Linked DNA regions of Homo sapiens: region 2 is linked to region 1. Evidence: promoter capture Hi-C in human tissues and cell types (Jung and others, 2019). All regions are on one chromosome and are shown on one strand. The core of a region is centred on a gene start or on the middle of the fragment in contact, and the rest is flanking DNA. Distances in the headings are between cores, read along the strand shown. Region 1 holds the start of CCDC28A (coiled-coil domain containing 28A). Region 2 overlaps PERP (p53 apoptosis effector related to PMP22).

Evidence for each region. Contacts are between HindIII fragments. The study calls those that stand out against the background at their distance.
Region 2: a contact is called between a fragment that was not itself captured here and the fragment with the promoter of CCDC28A in region 1, in 1 of the 25 tissues and cell types used here (dorsolateral prefrontal cortex).

What each region holds. Positions count from the first base shown.
Region 1 is chr6:138,772,418-138,775,080 of GRCh38, forward strand. It overlaps CCDC28A (coiled-coil domain containing 28A), which reads left to right and starts at 1,352. Exons shown (of 6, transcript NM_015439.3): 1 at 1,352-1,485. It overlaps CCDC28A-AS1 (CCDC28A antisense RNA 1), which reads right to left and starts at 1,286. Exons shown (of 3, transcript NR_161205.1): 1 at 1,098-1,286. RefSeq lists enhancers at 403-1,077, 1,078-1,751, 1,115-1,164, 1,185-1,244, 1,605-1,664. The HindIII fragment of the contact is 9,932 bases long and covers 1-2,663 here.
Region 2 is chr6:138,089,719-138,092,381 of GRCh38, forward strand. PERP (p53 apoptosis effector related to PMP22) reads right to left here. Exons shown (of 3, transcript NM_022121.5): 3 at 1-2,550. The coding sequence ends at 2,324. Among named protein-coding and RNA genes, the nearest start is that of PERP, 16 kb to the right of the region's middle. The HindIII fragment of the contact is 4,944 bases long and covers 1-2,663 here.

The DNA of each region.
Region 1 (2,663 bases), core at 102-2,601:
AAGTCTAGCTATATTTATCAATGTGGATAGCTCTCAAAAACACAGAATTTGGTGAAAAAATCAAGTTGCAGATCAATACACAAAATATAATAGCATTCATGTAAAACTTCAAATGCCCCAAACCATTCTACATATTGTTTATAATACATAGTAATAGTTTAAATATAGAAACCTAGATTGGCAAGATACATATCAAATTCATGATCCTGGTTGCCTCTCTGAGGGTGGTAGTAGAATGGGACTGAGAATAGGGAACACCTTCTTTATCTGTAATGCTCCATTTCTTTCATTCATAAATCTGTTCGTTCTGGATAGTGGGTGCGTTGTTTATTCTGTGCTTTTTTTTTTTAACATTTCAATAGTTTTGTTTTTTTTTTTTAAATGGCGGGTGGCGGAAGAACATCCTATCCTAGAAGCCAAGAGACTGGGGTTGTCTTTGCTCTGCCTTTTCTGGCATGGATACAATCTCTAGATATGGTTTCCCCATTAGCTAATGCGGGGGGTGCTATGTGGTGTTCCTCCAGAGTCCCTTCAATCTAAGGACCTGTGAATCTAAAACCTTCCCACCTCCCACTCCAACACCGGGAAGGCTACCCAGACCAGGCAATGAAACGTGCATTTCTTCCCTCATTTAAGATAGATCTCTTTCTCTCAGCCTGCAATTCCTTCTCCAGAGGCTTTAAGTATAGTGGAAGTAGAACTATCTTTGACGACAGAGAGACACCTGCATCAATTAGCCTTTCTGAGCCTCAAATTCCCCATTTGTAAAACAGAGAGTATAACACCTACCCATAAAATTGTAGAGAGGTTTAGATACACCGTTATGTGTAGGGCCCGAACAGAGTAGCTATTAATAGTGGTAACAGACTCTCAATTAGGGGCTCAACATCATGGTCGCTGAACAGAATCACGGTCGCTGAACAGAATCACACTCTTCACGCCGCCTTGGAGCCAAAATTAGTTTAGCCGCGAGAAGTCCGGGCAACCAATCGGAAACAACCAAGGAACAGTTGCATGGCGACACTCTGGTTCCGCCTTCGGGCATGCTCGAACAGCATTCTGGGAATTGTAGTTCGGGGGGGGAATCTAACACTCACCGAGGGGCGGAGTAGCTTCCGGAAAGGGTACTGCATTTCCCGTTTCTACCTCCACTGCACCCGCTTATTGCGTCTTGCTCCTGGGTCACAGAGCCTAAAACGACACACCCAACACGCCCGCCGGAGTTACAGCTAAAGGAAGGACAGGGGAAGCAATGAAATGCCGAGGGCGGAGCCAAGAGCGACACTGGGGGAGCAGGAAAAGGCGGGGCTTCCGCTTGGGGCATGGAGGCTGTACCTCTTACGTCACTTCCGTAAACAAACGGAGCTGCGGAGGAGCGGGTCCCGGGATGTGACCGGGGCTCTGCTTGTGGCTGCGGCGGTGGCTTCTGAGGCTGTCGGGTCTTTGCGGGTTGCGGAAGGGGGCCCCAATACCCTTCTTCTTCAGGTATGTAGTGGAAGCAAAGGAACCTCCGCAACCTGCCCCTTTAGGCCCTTCCCACCACTCTGGTCACTGCTGGGTACTGGGCGGTGAAGGGTCATCGCTTCGGTAGATTGGGGAAGGGGAATGAGGTGATGTCAAGAGGGATGCCCAGTGGTACTGCTTGGAGGCAAGACCTGGCACTTAAAACCACTGTGTGAATAAGTAACTATGAGCAGTTTACTTATTATGCCTTCTCTAAAACATTCTTTGCTGTTTGATATACAGGAAGGGTTTCAGTGCTCTTGTGACAGATGTAATTTTCCAAAAACGAGGAAATCGCGAGTGCTGGCTCCGCAGAATATTGTGGTTTAGACCACCACTGGTTTATTTGCATTGCTTTACTTCCTAGATTTTTTTTTCTTGTACCACCAAGTGTGTATTAGCATCGTTAAATTTCAGGCCAGCGTGTTTATGCGTATCATACATTTTTACAGATCCTTGCCTCTTCAGAGAACTAATCGTCTCTATTCAGTCATCTTTCAAACTCTCATTTAATTTGTGTTGCATGTTGAAACAACACCAGAATTATTGTTCTGTTACAAAAAATGCTTCTTAAAAGAAAAATTGTTAGCCAAGGTTTAAGTGGATTGACACCCAGTGGTATCTGGGATTAGAGACTGGGCATTGGAGCCTTTCCCAGAAAGCCTCTTCTTTGGCAGTATTGTAGCTCCAGTTGTAATTGTCTAGCGTCAGCCAATTTAAGCTCAGTGGTTTAAATTCCAGTGCCAGTGGCACTAAGTCCAGGCAAAAGGAAAAAGAAAAATTTATTGAATTCATCAAATAATTATTTTAAGCGACAGCAATGGGTTTGAATCTTTTTGAATGGTCATGGCATGCCTAAATTAAACACAGCATGCCAAAAACGGCCTAATGTTTCTAGAAGGCAATTTACAACCTGATGAGGTAGAGATAGCCATATAAATTCATCTTATGATATATGAAATAATGAAGTTAAGAAAAATTTAACACTATGCACAAATAAAGTATGGAAGGGGTTTTTTTGTTTTGTTTTGTTTTGTTTTGTTTTGTTTTTGAGACGGAGTCTCGCTCTGTCGCAGTGGCACCATCTCGGCTCAGGGCAAGCTCCGCCTCCCGGGTTCATGCCATTGTCCTGCCTCAGCCTCCTGAGTAGCTGGGACTAC
Region 2 (2,663 bases), core at 68-2,567, 680 kb before region 1:
GATCAACAAGGAATGGCAGATCTCTATACTAGAACAAGGCTGAAGGAAGCAGACCATTTCTGCAAAATAAGAGTTTATCTTTGTCATAAATACTTTAGGTTGACATGGTTCTATTATATCAGGCTCGTTGGTCCCAGGAGGTTGCATTTTTCCTAAATGTGCGCCGTTAAGGTATTGTGTGATTGAGGAGGGGAAGAAGGCTGGATGGGAAATCATGCAAAGACAAGTGCATGTGGTAGAGAAGCTTATAAACGGAGTCATTTTCATGTTTAACAGGAGACCACGTTTCTTAATCTCTAGATATCCAGTATCTTCTTGAATGAGCTGTGGTATCACTTTAAAAGATGGGATTTTTAACATTTTTAATGACCACTTCAAATTCTCCACCAGCCACGGCATAGTTGTGTGGGTTTTTCTTTTCAATTTTGGTATAATCACCCAGATTACATTTCTCTATGAGAAACATTCACCTCGCATTTTGAAAAGCATAGAAAAATTCACTGCCAAGGACTAGCTGGCCAACAGTAGCCCTAGGGAGATATATTTCCGTTCTCCCACCCAGCCTCTCTGCACCCATCCTCACAATGACATACACCATAGTGGAAGTAACATATGACTTATGGTGGGAAAAAAAATAACAAATGATAAAATGGGAAGGAGGGCAAGGGGAAAATAGAGAGACTGCTACCCCACCACCTGAATGGAAGGGGACCCCAGCACAAGGAGGAGGCTTCAGCTACACTGCACACATGTCCCCCGGGTGTCTGAACCTGCCAGAAATCTCTTAGTCCATTTTCCTCTGGTTGATAGCACTGCAGAGAAATTGTTTAATGTGTGTCTAGGGTATTGTTCATTGAGGAAAAGTTCAGGGAATAGACTATTAGAATTCATTAATCTCCACTCAAAAATTGGTTTTGGACACCTAAAATGAGCAAGGCCCTTAAAACTTCAAACAAAAAAACAAACAAAAACCACTTTTCATTATATCCCATGTTCTTATTACCCATTTTTTTTTTAATTCCTTTCCCCAGATTTGAAAAATGGAAAAACTACAAACTGGAAACAAGTTTAGAATACCTGGTTTATTGGGAAAACTTCATAATGAAAACTACAATTAGCTTTTTCCACAACTTACAAAATAATAATCTGATATTTAAAATGAATTGGTTTTCATTATGTAAGTCGAAATGGTAAAAAATCATAATGACCTATCCGATGCATCATATATATGCTATTCAGAGAAACTCAAATCCCCGAATTCTCCTGTGGCATGTTTTATATCAGACATTTAAAATCTGTTTACCAAGAAAGACCAGGATTTTAACTATATGTAGGTTTCTGCTTACAGTTGCAAACTATCAGAAGCCTGTCTATATGATAGAGCCCAGATAAACCTGAGATTTAGAAAAGCAAGTCATTTATTCTCCTGAGGCTGTTTTAGTGGCACTTTTGTGACAAGAATGACCCTCCTAATGCTTTACTACACAACTTAACCAGATCTATCAGTCATGATAAATTAGACCCAGTCCATCTTTCAATCCAGTCTACTCTGGTTCTGAACATATAAACACAAAACACTACAGATTTATTAATATAGCATTTTCCCACACCCTAACCCTATAAAGAACTTTAAAAGAGAAAATTTCATCTAAATATTTCACACTTAAAGGAAAGCCTTACCAACTATGGCAACAGGTTTGGACCATGAAATAGTACTTTCCTAGATGACATATCGAGTCAACATGAAGCCTTAGCTAAAATGAATGATTCAGGATATTAATGAGAAATTCTCACAAATGATATGCATTTAGGAAATGATTTTGCTTTCCTTAAATAGTTCGAAGGCTTGAAAATAAACTTTTTTTTTGCATTTCTTTTAGAATGTTTGGTCATTAACAACTTTTAACCTTATCTTCCTCTTCTCCTTAGCCCTTAACAGACCGAGTCCATTCTATTTGGAAATAACAAGAACTTGATCAGATTATTAAATCTTGGAAACCTCATTTTTACCTTATAAAGTGTTAAGTTTCACGTGCATATTCTCTTACAAATGTAGTATAAATGTTATGGATAGATATAAGGAAATATTGGCATAGTATAGGTAATTAGTGAAAAGACACAACTTCACAAAACATAATAAAAGATAAACATGAAACTATAACACTACTTAAAAAATATTTTCTCCCAAATTATTTTAGCATTTTTGACTAGTTTAATAATATGAACACTGCCAAAAAATGGGTTCAAAGTCGCCTGGAGAAACAGTTTCTTCTTCTGGAGTCCATCTCAGCAGCAGCGATTTTCTCCCACATTCATTCCCAAGTTAGGCAGATGTGTAGAAGTACCTGGGCTTGGCATTGCCCAGAAGGTCATCTTCGTAGTTGGGGAGGCAGCAGAAGAAGAAGGCACAGCCAATCAGGATAATCGTGGCTGCCCACCCAAAGCCGTAGGCCCAGTTATAGATGTAAGTGACAGCAGGGTTGGCATGAAGGGTGAAGGTCTGGGTGTACTTCACGGGGTAAATTACCAGGGAGATGATCTGGAACACAGCTAAAGGGAAGAAAAAAATCCCAGGGTATGAATGCATACATGCATGAAGGAATAAATACACATTAGCGACAGATTACCTCCTTCCACCAAGTTTCTGCCTTGAAATAAGTATA